Regions from separate parts of the Homo sapiens genome. Here all the other regions are linked to region 1. The links are contacts of gene promoters, found by promoter capture Hi-C in blood cells and fetal thymus (Javierre and others, 2016). All regions are on one chromosome and are shown on one strand. The core of a region is centred on a gene start or on the middle of the fragment in contact, and the rest is flanking DNA. Distances in the headings are between cores, read along the strand shown. Region 1 holds the start of USP44 (ubiquitin specific peptidase 44). Region 2 overlaps NR2C1 (nuclear receptor subfamily 2 group C member 1). Region 3 overlaps FGD6 (FYVE, RhoGEF and PH domain containing 6). Region 4 overlaps FGD6 (FYVE, RhoGEF and PH domain containing 6).

Region 1 (4,829 bases), core at 1,682-4,181:
AAAGTTACTAGTATCTTTTTGGCATGGTTTACTAAAACTTTAAGAGTTGAAATTTCCACCTGTAGTGCCTTTTCTTTTCTCCCCCTCTCTCCCTCTGCCTTTCCAGATCCTTTCCCTCCCTACTATGAGAGAGGAAGACTAAAATAGTATTGCCATGTTTCTCAGAGTAATAGAATTAATTTTAACCTTTATAGCACTTGTCCTTGAATTGACTATTACTTTAGTACAGAAGTAAAACTTGATTTAAGGGAATACTGCTTATCTATCCTGAGTGAGGTTCTGTATTAATTGCTATAGGGGTTGTAAATATGAACAAAAGTCTGTTTCTGACTTCAAAGAACTTTACAGGGTAATAGTAAACCTAAGAGAGAAATAATGATAAACACACTGACTTTTCTCCTTACAGTTTAGGCAGGTTCCATGGACAAAACCTCATTTGGTCCTTAAAACATTATTGTGAAGAAGATAGGACAGATACTATTTTCCAAACTCTACAAATGAGATAGAAATTTTAAAAATCCTGAAAGGATTGCAAATAACTAGATGGACAAATTGTTATTATAGCTAAATGAGTTCTAATTATATATGTGCATATGAGTATATATATGTGTGTCTGCGTGTATTGTGTGTGTGTGTGTGTGTGTGTATTCTGCTGTCATCACCTCCCATAGCTTATCCTTGGAAAGGAAGTACCTTGGCTTAGCAAAATATCTATCCCACTGATCTGTCACAATGTTTAAAATGTCATTTTAGAAATTCCAAACTCTGGGTGTCTACAGGAGGTAGAACAGTCTGAGAGAGAAATGGAAAAAAAAATACTAAACACTAATAATACAAAGTAGATAACTTTACTTCATAACTGAGCTCCTTAGATAATGACAGGTTGGGGCCAGGCATGGTGGCTCATGCTCGTAACCCCAGCACTTTGGGAGGCCGGGGCACAAGGATTGCTTGAGGCCAGGAGTTTGAGACCAGCCTGGGTAGCATAGGGAGAACCCCCCTCCACCCCCACATCTCTACAAAAAATCAATTAGCAGAAGTTGTGTCGCATGCCTGTGGTCCCAGTTACACAGGAAGCTGAGGTGGGAAGATTGCTTGAGCCTGAGAGGTCAAGGCTGCAGTGAGCCATGATCACGCTACTGCACTCCAGCCTGGTGACAAAACCCTGTCTCCATTTTAAAAATAAATAAAAAGAGAGAATGAAAGGTTGGTGTACCTGTCCTGAACAAAATGGGAAGAGTTTTGATGGGAAGGAAGAGAGACAGACTGCAGTAAAGCCCTGGACACAGCATCCTGAGGATCCCTGTAAAAGTGAGTATAGAGTGGGCCAGGCGTGGTGGCTCACGCCTGTAATCCCAGCACCTGGGGAGGCCGAGGCGGGCAGATCACGAGGTCAGGAGTTGGAGACCAGCCTGACCAACATGGTGAAACCCCGTCTCTACTAAAAATACAAAAATTAACCAGGCGTGGTGGTGCATACCTGTAATCCCAGGTACTCAGGAGGCTGAGGCAGGGGAACTGCTTGAACCCGGGAGGCGGAGGTTGCAGTGAGCCGAGATCACGCCACGGCACTCCAACCTGGGTGACAGAGCGAGACTCTGTCTCAAAAAAAAAAAAAAAAAGAAAAGAAAAGAAAAGAAAAACTGAGTATAGGGTGGAGGTGGAGTGGATGTTTATGTTTAAAAAGGGGGAGAAATGGACTCACTTCACAATTTTGCTTCCATTTATACCTAAACCCTGGGGCTCAGGGTTTCAGTTTCCAGTAGGCCTATGTTGGAAATTCACCTGCAAGGTACAAGTTTCCCTGACAGACCACCAAATAAACAATGGTCTTTTAAAAACAAATCAACTTTGGTACCATCTACTCAGCTGGCATTTACCTTCCTTACCTGCTACCAACCTCATTCTTAGAATTAAAGAAAAAAGGCGAATTCTAAAGCCCCTTCTACTCACTTTCCTCCACTAAGGCCATAGCTTACATCTGCTGCTCTTTTTTCCATACTCCTTTTTTCTCAACTCCTTTCTTTCATATTTGCCAGAAATTTAAGGTCGTTTGGGTTCCTCTCATTTAAAAAGTTCAACTGAAGTGTGTTGCTACACCTTAATCAAAAGTTTATGGCTGAGTTATTTAGCGTTTCTTTACCCACTTCCTCTGCTCAATCCTTCATCTCCTCATAACCATTGAAATGAATGCTATGAATATCTCAATGCTTAGCATGGTGCCAGGCATTTAGGTGTTGAAAAAAATGTTAAGCGAATATTAGTTATTAGGTAAGAGCATTGTCTGTAAAACTCTGAAAAGTCTTAAAAGTGATTCCTAAAATTTCACAAGCTCATAAATTCTTTAGTCTGCAATTATGATTCCTGAAATATTCTTCGATTCATGAAAGACTGGACTAGGAAATTCTAAAAATCGACATAAAGCATAAAAAGCCACTCTGAGGTTTATGAAATTTACAATGTTTTGTCTTCTTTTAATTCATTCGTACTTTTCTCTCAGGATACAAAGGGCAAAACTGTTTGTGTAGTAACTCAGAATTGAGTAGTTACACATCCATTAGGTTTCAGAATCGTTAAAATTTTATCTGGTTTAGGAAACTGCTTACCTTGGAAGGGCAAATTGCCATTTCTCTCCATCTGGGGATCAGGGAAGCAAGGGAAGCCCCCCTAAACATCACTTCCACGCTCCTATATTATGCTAAGGAACTTCTGGTTGATTCATTAGGCATTTCAGCAGTGTTTTTGGCCGGTACTAGGAACTGTGGAGAGGTATAGAAAGGGAGCAAGTGCACAGTCCCGGCCCCCAAAGAGGTTACGATGCAAATAGAAGCAGGCTCAGAACTCGGAACAAAAGCAGTGACTGCATAATAATGCACTGCTGGGGGTGGGGGATGGGGATCTGCACGCCCGGTTTGTGACTTCAGGAAAGCAGTTTCCAGGAGGTGAGAGTTTAAGCCAAACCTGAAAGAGGTTGATTTGTAATGATTTGCAGGGGGGCACTGGAGGCAGCCGCCAGGACTTTTCACTTAGGAGATCAGCATTTGCCCTGATGGAAACTGGGCGATCCTGCAGGGACTGACCTCTGAGTTATCCAAAGGCCGACCTGGGGAAAGACTGATTTTGAGGTTTTAATAGGTAAGTTTGGGGACATCATTGATGAAGGTGGGCAGGGAAGGAGGCTTTTTTCTTTTCTTTTTTTTAATGTTACAGTAAAAAGCTTAGATTCGATGAGACGGGTTAAAAAACAAATAGGAAAATTTAAGGAGAAGAATGACTATGATTGCTATGTAAAAATAAAATTGCAATAGAGAGGTTCTGGAGCTCAGGAAATGAGCTAGAGCATGCTATAATTTAGGCCTAGATAGTGAAGATCATGAATAAAATGGTAGCTGAGGAAATTTCAAAGTTGAATAAGTAGTAATAAGTATGAAGAAAAAGCTAAACTACAAACATCTGCTCTTTAATTACTAACACTAGTAATGAGAATTTGTCTCCAGCCTCTTCCCTTCCCACTCCGCACCTCTTCCTAGCTTACATCATTGTATTAAGGCATTTTATTGAAGACACTATTCAGCACTCTCCACCTATGCCTTACACAGCTTGCCTTTGCTTTTCTTCCCATTTCACTTTTTCTCTTCATTTATTCACATCATTTTAGTCCTTAAAAGACCCCGCCCAATTACTAGATCAGAGGGAGGCAACTAAGACTCTTCCTATCTCCCAAACGACCTTCCAGAATGGTTTTATGGCATTATAATAGGAAAGCAAGAGTTTTGATTTTTCTATTATTAATATTTTGCTTTCAAGGAATTACAGGAAAAACCATATTGCATGCCAGAAATACTTAAATTTTAAATATTTCATCTTAAGAGATGCCCTCATGTAATGCTTTTAATGCATTTGAGAAATTCAGGTGGTGGGCAAAAGTACAACATAGAGGTTAGATGTTTTGAGTGGGAGAAGTGCACTGGGGTCATTATTGAATCAGAATTATTATGCACTTAAATATATAGAAAAAAGAACAAAATGAGTATTAAACTATGCAAATTCATCCCTTTAATCTTTATTTGCATGACTACATTTTATGCAGTTGTAACCTTAATGTACATATTTGGTATTTTTTTCAAACATGAATTGATTAGACATTGTTGCTATTTTGTATCTATTTTGTTAACATAAGAACTTCCTGTGTTATATCAGATTTTTTTTTTTTTTTTTTTTTTCTGAGACGGAGTTTCGCTCTTGTTGCTGCCCAGGCTTGAGTGCAATTGTGGATCTAGGCTCACCACAACCTCCGCCTCCTGGGTTCAAGCGATTGTCCTGTCTCAGCCTACCGAGTAGCTGGGATTACAGGTGCCCGCCACCAGGCCCGGATAATTTTTGTATTTTTAGTAGAGACAGGGTTTCACTATGTTGGCCAGGCTGCTCTCGAACTCCTGACCTCAGGTGATCCACCCGCCTTGGCCTCCCAAAGTGCTGTGATTACAGGCGTGAGCCACTGCGCCCGGCCTCTATGTCAGACCTTAATTAGCCATTTCCTGTTAGTTAGAATCCTGTGCCGCTCCTTCTTGCCTTTTACGGTGTTTGGATAATATGCTGTGAATACCTTTGTGCACTCATTTCTTTATTCAGGTCATACCACTGAAACATACTCCCCAGAATAAAACTGATGATGAAAAGATAGGAACAATTTTATACCTTGTCTTACATATTGCAAGATTTTGCACTGCATTGATGTATTGTTAACTTTGCATGTTTGTCTTCTTTTTAAGCTCTCCTTGGAGAGTTTTTAAATTTTCAGTACACTCCACAGGGTGGCCAAAGTAGAA
Region 2 (4,829 bases), core at 1,340-3,839, 480 kb after region 1:
ACTTTTCTAGGAAGGTTAAAACAGTCTAACCTTCCACCAACAGTGTATAAAGAATGTGTGTGTTGGCTAGGTGTGGTGGCTCATACCTGTAATCCCCACACTTTGTGAGGCTGAGGTGGGCGGATCACTTGAGATCAAGAATTCGAGACCAGCCTGGCCAACATGGTGAAACCCTTTCTCTACTAAAAATACAAAAAGTACCTGGGCATGGTGGTGCATGCCTGTAATCCCAGCTACTCGGGAGGCTGAGGCAGGAGAATTGCTTGAACCTGGGAGGCAGAGGTTGTAGTGAGCCGAGATTGCACCACTGCACTCCAGCCTAGGTGACAGAGCAAGATTCTGTCTCAAAAAAACAAAAAACAAAAAACAAAAAAAACTTGTAAATTTTACTTTTGTATTGGCTACTCAAGGCCAGTTTATCAGGCTGGATCCTATTTGAAGTTGGGAAGAATGGGAAGAAAACAGACACTGCTATCAGAGCAGCCTTAACTTACACCATTACTTACCTACTTCTTTCTCATCTCTTCAGGGTAGAGACCATCTTTATTATCCTATCCCAGGGTCAGGCATAGATCCTGGAAGACATCAGGGACTCAATCAACTGAAAGGTGTAGTTAGGGAAAGGGAGAGTTGCTTTTTTTTTATAAGGTTGAGAATCCCCATGCAGTAGCAGCAGTGAGTGTTGGATGGATGGATGGATGCATGCATGGATGCATAGATGCATGGATGGATGGATTAATGTTTAAAAGCATTTTTTTTCAGTCATCCAGTCACAAAATTATGGGGGAAAAAAAGGAATGTGTGTGTTGCCTTATCTTCGGAGTTAAATTTAGTCTTGGAAAATATAGTCATATGTTATGGGGATGTGTTCTGAGAAAAGCATCCCTAAGTGATTTTATCACAGATGAACATCATAGAGCATACTTACACAAAACTAAATGGTATAACTTACCATACACATAGGCTATACAGCATAGCCTGTTGCTCTTAATTTACAAACCCACACAGCATGTTACTTTAGTGAGTACTGTAGGCAGTTTTAACACAGTAGTATTTATGTAAGTAACAAATCTAAACGTGGAAGAGGTGTAGTAAAAATACAGTGTTATGGGTGTAAACTTGTGGTACCGCTATTGTATATGCAGTCTCATTCATTGACTAAAACATTGTGCAGTACATGACTATATATTGATCTAATGAGTCCCTGGAATTCATTCAGATAAACAAATAGTTTATCTCCCTAAGTTTTCATTAGGAGGTGACTTCTTTGAGTCTAATGCACCAATACACTGGTGTTGATTTTAGGATTTCTGGAAGAGATTTCTTATTTGTTTATTACTTTAATTTTTGTGGTAATCCTTGTATTTAAGCAAAATTTAAAAGCATCAAACACTTATTCAATGAAAAATAAGTCTCCCTTCCATTCCTGTTTCCAAACTTGCAGTTTCTTTCCTTGGAGGTACTTATTGGATCCATTTTCTTTCTTATGTGTCCTTTTAAGATGTAGTTTTTCTTTTTCTTTTTTTTTCTTTTGAGACAGAGTCTCTCTCTGTCACCCAGGCTGGAGTGCAGTGGCACGATCTTGGCTCACCACAGCCTCTGCCTTCCAAGTTTATGGGATTCTTCTGCCTCAGTCTCCTGAGTAGCTGGGATTACGGGCACCCGCCACCATGCCTGGCTAATTTTTTTTTTTTTTTTTATGAGACAGAATTTCACTCTTGTGGCCCAGACTGGAGTGCAATGGTGCAATCTCGGCTCACCGCAACCTCCGCCTCCCAGGTTCAAGTAATTCTACTGCCTCAGCCTCCTGAGTAGCTGGGATTACAGGCATGTACCACCACACCTGGCTAATTTTGTATTTTTAGTAGAGATGGCGTTTCACCATGTTGGCCAGGCTAGTCTCAAACTCCTGATCTCCGGTAATCAGCCCACCTTGGCCTCCCATAGTGCTAGGAATACAGATGTGAGCCACCGGGGCCGGTCCAAGTGTAGATTTTCTTGTCTTTAGGCAGCATTTTAAAGTTTTATTTGCCTACCTAGATCTTGCATGTTCCTTATTGGGTTTATGCCTGAGTGTTATGGGCTGAATTCGGTTCTCCCACAAAATCATATGAATCCCAAATTCCTATGGTGATGTCCTGACCACCAGTACCTCAGAATTGAGTATATTGGAGATAAGGCCTTAAAAGAGATAATTGAGTTAAAATTAGTTCATTAGAGTGTACCGTAATCCAAAATAACTGATGTCCTTCTATGAAGAGGACACAGACACTCAGAGGGAAGACCGTATAAACATATAAAGATACATGGAGGGCTGGGGCCGGGTGCAGTGGCTCACGCCTGTAATCCCAGCACTTTGGGAGGCCGAGGCAGGCAGATCACGAGGTCAGGAGATCAAGGCCATCCTGGCTAACACAGTGAAACCCTGTCTCTACTAAAAATACAAAAAAATTAGCTGGCGTGGTGGCAGGTGCCTAGTCCCAGCTACTTGGGAGGCTGAGGCAGGAGAATGGCATGAACCCAGGAAGTGGAGCTTGCAGTGAGCCAAGATCATGCCACTGCACTCCAACCTGGGTGACAGAGCAAGACTCCATCTCAAAAAAAAAAAAAAAAAAAAGATACATGGAGGGGTGGGCATGGTGGCTTATGCTGATAATTCCAATACCAACACTTGGGAGGTCGAGACAGGAAGATTGCTTGAGCCCAGGAGTTTGAGGCCAGCCTGGGCAACACAGTGAGACCCCATCTGTACAAAAAATAAAAAATTAGCCAGGTGTGGTGGTGTATACCTGTAGTTCCAGCTACTCAGGAGGCTGAGGTGGGAGGATCACTTGAGCCCAGGAGGTTGAGACTGCAGTGAGCCGTGATGGTGCCCCCTACACTCCAGCCTGGGTGGGCCTTGTTTTAAAAAAAAAAAAAATAAAAAAGACACATGGAAAAGGCAACCCATGAATGGAAAAAAGAAACTTCAGAAAAAGCCAACCCTCCCACCTTAACTAGATTATTTTGAAGCAAATCTTAAATATCATATAGTTTTATTTGTAAATTATTTAATAAGAGTGTTTTGTGAGTTTAATTATAAAACATCTTTTTATTTTTGGCAGGTAGATCATGGCAACCATAGAAGAAATTGCACATCAAATTATTGAACAACAGATGGGAGAGGTATGTCTAGTTTACGGTTGATGCACTGGCCCACCAAACTTTTCTAATTCCTACTAAATGCATATACCAGGTTCTGGAGTTCCAGAAATAAAAGATATTCCCTAACTTAAGATAGCTTTTCAAGCTACTGAGAGATAGTTGAATAATCAGACAATTCATAGTAGAATGTGGTAAGTTCTGTGACAGGTCATTGTATCAGGTGCAATGGGAGCACAGAAGAAAATTGAAAGGAATGAAGGGAAGGAAGGAAGGAAAGAAATTAAAGAGCTGTAGAGTGAGTAGGAATGCTTTTGAGGGAATTCTTTTTAGAGGGTACAATCTGAGCCTAGTTTTGGTGGGATCAGTAGGAGTTCAGCATCAATACTGACATCTTCATTTTTTTAAATGGTTGTGTCCTATTACTTAGTAAGAGATACCACATAATTTGGAAGTTCTCAAAGTATTATCTGGGGACACTTCAGAGAATCAACCAGGTGAAGACCATTTTTATAATAATACTGAAATGTTATTTGCCTTTTCAGTATTGTTCTCTCCCAGGTATACAATGGAATTTTCTACAGACTGTGTGACATGTGATGATACTATATGATGAAATGTGTCAGCATTTATAAGGTGTACATAACTCAATGAATCATTGCTTTCCGGATGACCAGTGTATAATGTTACAAAATTATGCATGAGTGAAGGATCCATTTAAATTGCAGGATAGACCAACAGATTTTAATATAGTTTATGACTCTACATTGCTGCTAACCTTTGAAAAGCTGCCACTTGTTGAGTTGATGTAGTGTCGAACAACTTTCACAGTTTGAAAAGGGTATTAAAATATCCTTCCCCTTTTCAACCAATAAATACGAAGCTGAATTTTCTTTAACATATATACATATATGTATGTATGTATATGTATATATATGGTGAAGAAATAGGTTTCCGGCTGATTTTTTGTGGCCATTTTTTGTGCTCACGTGCCTGGCTGATGTTTTATATATTTTGTAGCAACAGGGTTTTGTCATGTTGCCCAGGCTGGTCTGGAGCTCCTGGGCTCAAGCAGTTCACTGGCCTTGGCCTTCCAAAGCGCTGGGATTACAGGCGTGAGGTGCTGTGCCCAGCCTTGTTATAACCAAAACAACATAGTCTAACAGATTAAATAAAGAAACAGATATGAGATTCCAACTTCTGTTAAACTAGATATTAAAGCAATTTGTAGAAATGTAAAACAAAGCCACTCTCTGCACTACATTTTTGTTTGTTTGGAAAATAAACTTTTTAGTCATTAAGAAATAGGTTATAATGGGTACAAAAAAATAGGATGAATGAATTAGACCTAGTATTTGATAGCACAACAGAGGGACTATAGTCAATAATTTTTTTTTTTTTTTTTGAGACAAAGTCTCGCTCTGTTGTCCAGGCTGGAGTGTAGTGGCGCTGTCTTGGCTCACTGCAACCTCCGCCTCCCTGGTTCAATGGATTCTCCTGCCTCAGCCTCCTGAGTAGCTGGGATTACAGGTGCCTGCCACCACGCCCAGCTAAATTTTGTATTTTTAATAGAGATGGGGTTTCAGCTTGTTGCTCAGGCTGGTCTCAAACTCCTGACCTCATGATCCGCCCACCTCAGCCTCCCAAAGTGCTGGGATTACAGGTGTGAGCCCCTGCGCCCAGTCAAT
Region 3 (4,829 bases), core at 1,244-3,743, 470 kb after region 1:
AGGCATGGGTTAGCTGGGACTCTGCAGGGCTATAATCAAAGTTTTGGCAAGTACTGAGTTCTCATCTAGAGGCTCATCTGGGAATTCATTTCCTTGTACTTGCAAGACTGGGGGCCTTGCCTTCTTACTAGCTTTTGGCTGGAGGTCCTCAGCTCCTTGCCATGTGGACCTCTCAACATTGCTACTTTGTTCAAAGCCAGCAAGGAAGAAAGTTTCTAGAGTGTCTCCTAACAAGACAGGGCCATATATAAGGTAGCTTGATCATGGGAGTGACATCCTATCACCCTCACCAAATTCTTAGTTAGAAGCAAGTCGTAGGTCCTGTCCACACTCAGGGGGAGGAGAATGTACAGCAGTGTGACTCTCTACAGCAAGGGTCATGGGAAGCCACCTTAAGCGTGTGCCTGCCATACCATTACTAAGGTAGATCCTAAACATTTTGTTATTTATCTACTCCTACATTTTTAAGAACACAGCTTTTAATAACCATTATTAGAGTCAATAGGCCAGGCACGATAGCTCATACCTGTAATCCCAGCACTTTGGGAGGCCAAGGCAGGCAAATCAACACCAACCTGGCCAACATGGCGAAACCCTGTCTCGACTAAAAATACAAAAATTAGCTGGACATGGTGGTGCACGCCTGTAATCCCAGCTACTCGGGAGGCTGGGGCACGAGAAGTGCTTGGACCCAAGAGGCAGAGGTTGCAGCGAGCTGAGATTGTGCCACTGCACTCCAGCCTGGGTGACAGAGTGAGACTGTCTTAAAAAAAAAAAAAAAAAAAAAAAGGCCGGTGTGGTGGCTCACGCCTGTAATCCCAGCACTTTGGGAGGCCAAGGCGGGTGGATCACAAGGTCGGGAGATGGAGACCATCCTGGCTAACATGATGAAACCCCATCTCTACTAAAAATATACAAAAAAAAAAAATAGCCGGACGTGGTGGCAGGCGCCTGTAGTCCCAGCTACTCGGGAGGCTGAGGCAGGAGAATGGCGTGAACCTGGGAGGTGGAGCTTGCAGTGAGCTGAGATCGGGCCACTGCACTCCAGCCTGGGTGACAGAGCAAGACTCAGTCTCAAAAAAAAAAAAAAAAAAAAAGAAAAAAAAAATCAATCAGTAAAAGCTTACTGTCTTTTTGCATAGAGATGAAAACATTTTCAACTTTTTATGAAGTAAAAATTAGCCTCTTTTCTTTCTTACTATAATTTGGGAAGCAAAGATTGATTCTTAAAATGAGCTTCCTTAATAGTAGAATTTTCTGTTTATTATTCTGTTTGTATGGTTTTTAGAAGTCCAAAAAGTTTTTTAGGAACAGAATTAAAGGTTCAAATAATTTTCCCTGATGCCCCAAAATAAGAGCAATAAAAAACAAATCCCCAAGTCCCCAAATCCAGCTTTTAGAAAAGCATTTTAGTCTTCTGGAACTATTTTTCTTCACCTGCCAACCCAGAAAACACAGATGAACCCACCAAGAAACATACGCAAACACGTGCAGGCACAGTTAAACCAAGTAAAATTCTATAATTGCCTCTAACATGGTTGTCTTCTTTTTTGTGCTCATGTTAATAGCAGAGTTCAATTTGTATAGTAGCACTTTGAAAATATATTTCATTCTGAAACATTCTATCATTACAGTTATTGCTTTCAGCACCTATTGGTTGCAAATAATTTTGCTGTTATAATTTGTCTGAAAACCATTAAACTTTGTATGGGGTTTCTTATCTAGGTATCAGCAAACACAGAGGATTCTTCTATGAGTGGCTACTTGTACAGATCAAAGGGCAATAAAAAACCCTGGAAACACTTTTGGTTTGTCATAAAAAATAAAGTACTATATACATATGCTGCAAGTGAGGTAAGATCTGAAATCTAAAGATGAGTAATTTGGGGTTTTGTAATGCCAACTGCAAGTAATTACAATATTTTAAAAATCCATTTATTTTACATAAGATTTTTTGCTTTGCTTTTGGATGGGGGAGGTGTTGTTGCTGTTATTTTTAATGTGAACAGTGTTCTTGCTTTGTACCTGGAGAGCTCTTTCTCAAATGTGTTAGGAATTTTCCATATTATTAAAATGCAATTTTTGTGTGTGTCGTGTGACTACTAATTACTTTACTAAAGGCAGAGCTGCCCCCAGGTGCACTGGCTCACACCTGTAATCCCAGCACTTTGGGAGGCTGAGTGGGGGTGGATCACCTGAGGTCAGGAGTTCGAGACTAGCCTGGCCAACATGGCGAAACCCCGTCTCTACTAAGAATACAAATATTAGTGGAGTGCCTGTAATCCCAGACACTTGGGAGGGTGAAGCAGGAGAATTGCTTGAACCCGGGAGGCAGAGGTTGCAGTGAGCTGAGATCGTGCCACTGCACTCCAGCCTGGGCAACAGAGAGACTCTGTCTCAAAAAAAAAAAAAAAAAAAAAGGCAGAGCTGTGTTTCTTTCTGCCAAGCTCTCTTGAGTGATACTCCCTTTACTGTCATCGTTAGATTGCATTGATCTGACAGCAGCATAGATAAGATAGGCTTTTTTGGATTATAAACAATTCTAGCAGTTTACTCTAATTCTGTCCTTTTCTCCTACCTGATCACCCTGTGTTCCACCATCCTATGAAAACACTGCTGTAGGGTCCACACTTTTCCTTAGTGAGATCCAGGTGAATAGCTTACCTTTCTGAGCTGTTTTCTGCATCCATAAAATGAAAGTAATATAATCACGTGCCTTCCTTGGTTTAGTGAGGATGTTGTGAAATTCAGTAGATGTGAACATGCCAGAAATTGTGTGCCACAGTGCCTGGCATATAGGGTACCTAGGGAGGGAGTGGCTCAATGAATATTATTGAATAAATGAGAAGTGAGTAAGTTGTTAGAATTATCATTACCTTATATGTGAATAATTGAAATTAAATTAGAGCTATGTAGATCAAGAGTTTTCAAATCTGAATTTTGTCTCAATCTAAAAACTTTTCTCCATTTGTATGTTTTTAAATTAGGACGTGGCCGCTTTGGAGAGTCAGCCTTTATTAGGATTCACTGTTATTCAAGTTAAAGATGAGAATTCCGAGTCTAAAGTATTTCAGTTACTGCACAAAAACATGTTATTTTATGTATTCAAAGCAGAGGATGCTCATTCGGCTCAGAAGTAAGTAATCTGGCCATATTTTTCTTTTATTCATGAGATTTCAGTTTTTTAATGGTTGCTTGTAAAATGACCTACTTTAAGGCATGGGGACAACTCAAAATTTACATCAGAGATTTTAATTAGAAAGATTTAACGTATTATTTAAACTCTTCAGAATTGTTTTAAAGACAAGGCAGGGGTATCTGGAATATTTTCAGGAGGCAGAGGGGAAAAGAAAATAGGTAGTCCTATACAAAGTATTTTATCTACACGTGATCTCAGAGGAAGCAGCGTGATGCTGCTCTGCTGAAAGGAAGGAAAGCTAAGGCATTTGACCTCTCCTTCTATGAGGGTAAGAATCTTCCCTTGAAACATTCCAGGACTTTGGCAATCCAGCGATTCATTTGTGCCATGGAACAGCAGGAGTTTAAACAGCTGCTCGCTAACTTCTTTGGGGAAAAGGTCAAACACATTAAGAGACTCCCATGCTGTTCCAGTGACTGAGTAGAAGGAAATGGCTATCAGTTTAGATGGCAAAGGCTGAAACAGTCTCCTCAGAATTCCAGCAAGAATCTTTACTTAGATGTTATCAGTTTGCTTAACATAGAGATGCGTATCTACCTCTGTGAAATTAGGTCTCTTTTGAACAAAATAGTTCATCATCTCTCATTTGATTTTTACCTTGGCTTCACAAAAGAATACATTTTTGTTTTCAGGAAGAGGTGTTCATGTGTTCTCCACAAGCTTAAAAGTGCATGAAAATAAAAAAGAATGCTTTGAGTGAGCAAAGCTTTTAGTTTCTTAAGACAGTTAAGATTAATGTACCAGAATTGCACACATCCCTGAATACCAGCCAGGCACAATGTTACACACACTCTGTAAGACTCTTTTTTCAGTCTATTTTAGGATATCCAACAGTATATAGCTATTCTTCCAAATATTTTCCTTTGGCTACTGGAGAATATTTTTAAATTATGTCACTTAACCATCTTTTCTATAAAAATTATTTAGACAAAATAGTAATTGCCCTAATATTGTCAGATATTAGCTTTCTTACAATTTTCATCAAACTGAAAAAAAGTACTGCTTTTCAATATATGTCATCTTTTGCTTATATCATTGAGTTGACAAGATAGAAATGCCACCAAGACAGAATTACATGTAGTTAGGTAAAGGAAGTCAGTTTACTTATAATTTAGAATTGACCCAGGCTAAATTATAAATTTCTCTTTATTAATATCATATGGATTGCTTTTTGAAGTACATGACAGAATATTAAAATGTATTAATTTTAGTGGGAAAAAAGCCTTGCTATGGCAGTATAACATGCTATTTATGTTCAATATTAAATTTTTGAAAATTCCTTAAAATTTGAACTGAATCTGTTATAGGTTGCTTTTACAAAATAATTAAACTGAGTGATTTCAAGTGTTCATAGTTCTCTGGACTCTCTTCTGTGTGTGTGTGTGTGTGTGTGTATGTGTGTGTATATATATATATATATATTTTTTTTTTTTTTTTTTTTTTTTTTTTTAATGGAGACAGAGTCTAGCAATGTTGCCCAGGCTGGTCTGAAACTCCTGGGCTCAAGCAGTCCACCTATCTCAGCCTCTCAAAGTGCTGGAATTACAGGTGTGAGCCACCATGCCCAGCCTACATAAAATAATACCGTAAGAAATGATATTTCCATAAGAAAGAAGAAAAAGTTCAGAAG
Region 4 (4,829 bases), core at 1,405-3,904, 440 kb after region 1:
AGTGGCATGAACACGGCTCACTGCAGCCTCAACCTCCTGGGCTCAAGTAATTCTCTTGCCTCAGCCCTCCAAGTAGTTGGGATTACAGGCACATACCATCACACCCTGCTAATTTTTATATTTTTTGTAGAGACAGGGTTTCACTATCTTGCCCAGGCTGGTCTCGAACTCCTGAGCTCAAGCGATCCACCTGCCTCAGTCTCCCAAAGTGCTGGGATTACAGGCATGAGCCACCACACCTGGCCTGATCACATTCTTGTATATCCTTTACATTTGCAGAGTAAAAAGTGAACATTTTTAACCCTTTTTGTAGAGATTCTTATATATTCTTTTAATCATTTTACTTCTCTTAACATCTTCTGTTTGTGTACATTATGCTTTTAAAGGCGGTTTTTTTTAAAGGAAAAGCTTGTGGTTGGGGATCTGACAAGTTTCCTGTCTTCAGTGATCATATCTAGTTGATGAAGAAGTTTATAATATCCATCAAATAAAGAACAAAGCAAATGACTTCAAAGTAAGGGTGCACCGAGCAGGACAGAATTATTTGGATGACAGAGAAAAGTGTGAAGGTTAAAGAGGCAGGGAAGCTTTGCAGGAAAAAGTAGGACTGGAGATGAGTGGGAGAGTGGGTGAGAGGAAAAATGAGCATTCCCGACGGCAGCCCCTCTCGTGAGGATACAAATTATACATGGAACTTATAGAATAGAAAGAAAACATCTGTCCTGGGTCCTGGGCTTCTGCCTTCAATGAAAGTGAGTTATTAGCTCCATTTTACACATAAAACAAATTCAGGGTCAGAGATTAAGGAGCTTATTTAAAGGAAATTACATGTGACAGCAAAGACATAGATGAGAAAACCAGTGAACAGTGAGGCCCACTGTATGGCCAGAGGCACAGCAATCATATGGTGAGCAGTGGCCGGGCGTGGTGGCTCATGCCTATAATCCCAGCAATTTGGGAGGCCGAGGCAGGTGGGTCACTTGAGGCCAGGAATTCAAGACCAGCCTGGGCAACATGGCAAAACCCTTTGCTACTAAAAATACAAAGATTAGTGGGGCATGGGGGTGCATGCCTGTAATACCAGGTACTCAGTAGCTGAGGCATGAGAATCGCTTGAACCTGGGAGATGGAGGTTGTAGTAAGCCGAGATCCCGCGACTGCACTGTAGCCTGGGCGACAGAGCAAGACTCTGTCTCAGGAAAAAAAGAGTGGTGAGCAGTGTGGATGAGACTTCAAGGGTGAGGGAAGGTGAGGCAAGAATAACTTTGAAAGGTAGGCAGAAGAGTTAAAGGAATAGAGGCATCAGGGCCTCTTAACGGGATGACGTGGGGAAAGTAGAATCACAGCATGGAGTAGGGAAGGTAGAGCTTGGGAGACCAGGTGACCAAGTAGCAGCAGCAGCTTTGTCATCCATTAAATCTTAAGGCATCTCTCCCCTGTCCACCGGGAATTCCAGCAGGCCAGAAAGCAGGAAATGTGTCCACGGTAACCTCTTGAACCTGCTGTGAAAAGGGTACCAGGCACCGTAAATTCTGATACATGGCTGAGTACCGTGGCTCACACCTGTAATCCCAGCACTTTGGGAGGCTGCGGCGGGTGGATCACCTGAGGTCAGGAGTTTGAGACCAGCCCTGCCAACATGGCGAAACCCCGTCTCTACTAAAAATACAAAAATTAGCTGGGCATACTGGTGTGCACCTGTAATGTCAGCTATGCAGGAGACTGAGGCAGGAGAATTGCTTGAATCTGGGAGGCGGAGGTTGAGTAAGCCAAGATCATGCCACTGCACTTCAGCCTGGGAGACAGAGCAAGACTGTCTCAAAAAAAAAAAAAAATTCTGATATATAGTCAGGGTCTCTATATAAGGAAAAACCTGCTTTCCTTTAATAATAGTGATGATGATACATGTGGAAAGAATACAGGCCGGGTGTGGTGGCTCACACCTGTAATCCCAGCACTTTGGGAGGCTGAGGCGGGCGGATCACGAGGTCAGGAGATCAAGACCATCCTGGCTAACACGGTGAAACCCCGTCTCTACTAAAAATACAAAAAATTAGCTGGACGTGGTGGCAGGTGCCTGTAGTCCCAGCTACTTGGGAGGCTGAGGCAGGAGAATGGTGTGAACCCGGGAGGTGGAGCTTGCAGTGAGCCAAGATCGCGCCACTGCACTCCAACCTGGGTGACAGAGCAAGAAAAAAAAAAAGAATACAGAAGCCTCCACGGCTGGTACCAGGAAGACAGTCCTTTGATAGATTACAATAACTGGACCAAAACACCTCAACCCCTTTTCAGAAATTGATTTACTGTTGTTGTTTTTGTTTCGTTTTGTTTTGTTGAGACAGGGCCTCATTCTGTCACCTAGGCTGGAATGCAGTGGTGTGATCTGGGCTCACTGCAGCCTTGACCTCCTGGGCTCAAATGATCCTCCCACCTGAGCGCCCCAAATTGCTGGACTGCAGACATGAGCCACGACACCCAGCTAATTTTTGGATTTTTTGTGGAAACAAGGTTTTACCTTATTGCTGAGGCTGGTCTCGATCTCCTGAGCTCAAATGATCCGCCCACCTCAGCCTTCCAAAGTGTTCGGATTACAGGCGTGAGCCACCGCGCCCAGCCACTCTTTTTTTTAATAGTCCTTTTTTTGATGACCACTGTCACTGCCACAGCAGCCTCAGGAGGAGATGCTTCCCTCTCTAACACTCTACCAGTTTTTCTCAGTGGGAATGCTACTGTCATATTGTTCTGAATAATCTTTGTGTGGGTTTCTAAGGAGTATTGCATGGAGTTTGGCATCCCTGCCTCCTACCCACCAAAGGCCAGTGGATCTTCCTGGTCATTGTGACAAGCAAAAATTGTCTTTACACAGGTTCACATGTCCCTAAGGGAGCACTATGGCCTTGGGTTGAGAATAACTGCAGCCCCAAAGCTGAGAAAATGCAGACTTTTTCCTTTAGACCTAGTTATAAAGATGACAAGGCTGGAGTATGGAAAAACACTTTGCTAAAGGCAAAGGGTTAATAAAAAGAATAAAACACAGATAGGCCCATGAAGCTAATAACCCAGCTCACAAAATGACACTTGCAAATTCCTAAGATCTGGGATGCTTCCATGTGGCATTTCCCCCATTTCTAATTCATGCCTCTTGGAATCAGACTAAGAGACTGAGACCTGATCTTAGTCATTTCTTGTAGTTTTTATTTCCTATAACAAGATCCTTTTTCCTCACGATCCTTTTCTCCCAAGACAGTTTATACTGGGCTGGTCCTTATCTTCCAGGTGAAATCCCATCCTTATCTTTGTAAACTTGAATAGGATAATCAAATCACAGCACAAAACAACCCTGACATTCATACTGTTAGTAAACATGGTCTACAGTGTCTCTTTAGAGTCTTCTTTTGGCTCATTGTTTCCCTATATATTGTTTTGGCCAGGTTTTTGGTGGTGGTGGTGTTGTTTGGTTTGGTTTGGTTTTGCCTTCATTGAACCTTATATTTCTGCCTACTCACAGTCAATAAGCTCCTCCAGAGGTTGGTTGCTATAAACTAGCTATCTTGTCCCCTGGAATTGCTTAATGTTGCAAACTATTTGTTTCCATTGTAATTACTAAATGCACGTTTTGTTCCTGCCTATTTCAGATGCCCTTGCTGTTGTTATAGAGGTAGCCAACCACGCCAATGACACCATGAAGCAAGGAGTAAGTGTCTTGTTGTCAGTGGCTGGTGTGGTCTTGAACCTGAAAGCCCAGGCCTTCATATGCTTTCCATTGTCTTTCTGTAGGACAACTTTCAGAAACTTATGCAAATTCAGTACAGCTTAAATGGACACCATGAAATTGTGCAGCCTGGTCGGGTAAGCATTTTACATTGCTTTTCGCAAACTTAATACGATGCATTTAGGTACCATCTGTATCTGTTTATCATTTTATAAAAATAGGTTGTTTTTGTTACTCTTCATTGATTCAATTTTGATCACTTTATCCGTTCAAAACATTCATGATGTAAGTCACTGTGACAATTCAATTAGGAATAAGCCCATTTATGAAGTAAGTCCAGTTCAATTAGGGGAGCGGCAAGGGACCCCACAGAGTATCTGATTTAATGGGATCGTTTTCTTGTGTGATGCCAGCGACCTCACACAGTTTTGAAGACAATTTCATTTAACATCTTTAATGTAAGAGAGGATTATGAAGGGAGGGGGGAGATTGGTATTTTGATCCTCCTCATATAGCACAAAAGTGGCCTAGGGAATTAATTCGGGAAAATTACAAAATGCGGTTGTCAGGATGTTGGGTATGCTTCAGGATCAAGTACACGCTCAGTCAATTACATGTGCCTCCATACAGTATCCCAGGGGCCAATATTGGAATTATCCAACCCTGCTTGCTTGTCCGATTCCTAAATGATTTAAGGGTTTAAAATTAACTATGACTGTAAAAAATCTCAAGGAAACTGTGGCTCCCCAGTCTGTCATGAAAAAAATTCTCAGGGAAGAAAGTTGAAAAGGAAATTATATTGTCGTTGTGTTGTGATGGTAGGACTAAATGGGTGTTTGTTTGGGTGAATCAGGTTTTTCTCAAAGAAGGAATTCTGATGAAGCTGTCTCGGAAAGTGATGCAACCTCGAATGTTTTTCCTGGTAAGAGGACTTGTGTAGTTCTGATGTGGCCGAGGTAGGGATAGTTGCTTAAGGAAAGGAGACGTTTATACATGGTAGATAAGCTTAGCACCTTCAAATATCAGCCTCACCAGCTTCTTGAACTGGCCGTACCACTTAATTGCATTTCAAGTATGGGAAATAACGTCTGTTATGATGTATAACCAGAAGATTATT

Evidence for each region. Contacts are between HindIII fragments. The CHiCAGO score rates a contact against its expected background, and 5 or more counts as called.
Region 2: a contact is called between a fragment that was not itself captured here and the fragment with the promoter of USP44 in region 1, in 2 of 17 cell types (naive CD8 T cells and activated CD4 T cells). The highest score is 6.7, in naive CD8 T cells.
Region 3: a contact is called between a fragment that was not itself captured here and the fragment with the promoter of USP44 in region 1, in 1 of 17 cell types (erythroblasts). The highest score is 5.0, in erythroblasts.
Region 4: a contact is called between a fragment that was not itself captured here and the fragment with the promoter of USP44 in region 1, in 7 of 17 cell types (total CD8 T cells, non-activated CD4 T cells, naive CD4 T cells and 4 more). The highest score is 11.3, in total CD8 T cells.

Annotation. Positions count from the first base shown.
Region 1 is chr12:95,549,578-95,554,406 of GRCh38, reverse strand. USP44 (ubiquitin specific peptidase 44) reads left to right here and starts at 2,931. Exons shown (of 6, transcript NM_032147.5): 1 at 2,931-3,135. The HindIII fragment of the contact is 4,508 bases long and covers 1-3,219 here.
Region 2 is chr12:95,065,667-95,070,495 of GRCh38, reverse strand. NR2C1 (nuclear receptor subfamily 2 group C member 1) reads left to right here. Exons shown (of 14, transcript NM_003297.4): 2 at 3,105-3,165. The coding sequence starts at 3,112. Among named protein-coding and RNA genes, the nearest start is that of NR2C1, 5.5 kb to the left of the region's middle. The HindIII fragment of the contact is 9,664 bases long and covers 1-4,829 here.
Region 3 is chr12:95,082,805-95,087,633 of GRCh38, reverse strand. FGD6 (FYVE, RhoGEF and PH domain containing 6) reads left to right here. Exons shown (of 21, transcript NM_018351.4): 19 at 1,726-1,854; 20 at 2,988-3,136. Among named protein-coding and RNA genes, the nearest start is that of NR2C1, 12 kb to the right of the region's middle. The HindIII fragment of the contact is 2,737 bases long and covers 1,125-3,861 here.
Region 4 is chr12:95,107,368-95,112,196 of GRCh38, reverse strand. FGD6 (FYVE, RhoGEF and PH domain containing 6) reads left to right here. Exons shown (of 21, transcript NM_018351.4): 10 at 3,636-3,694; 11 at 3,778-3,849; 12 at 4,566-4,634. Among named protein-coding and RNA genes, the nearest start is that of NR2C1, 36 kb to the right of the region's middle. The HindIII fragment of the contact is 4,130 bases long and covers 590-4,719 here.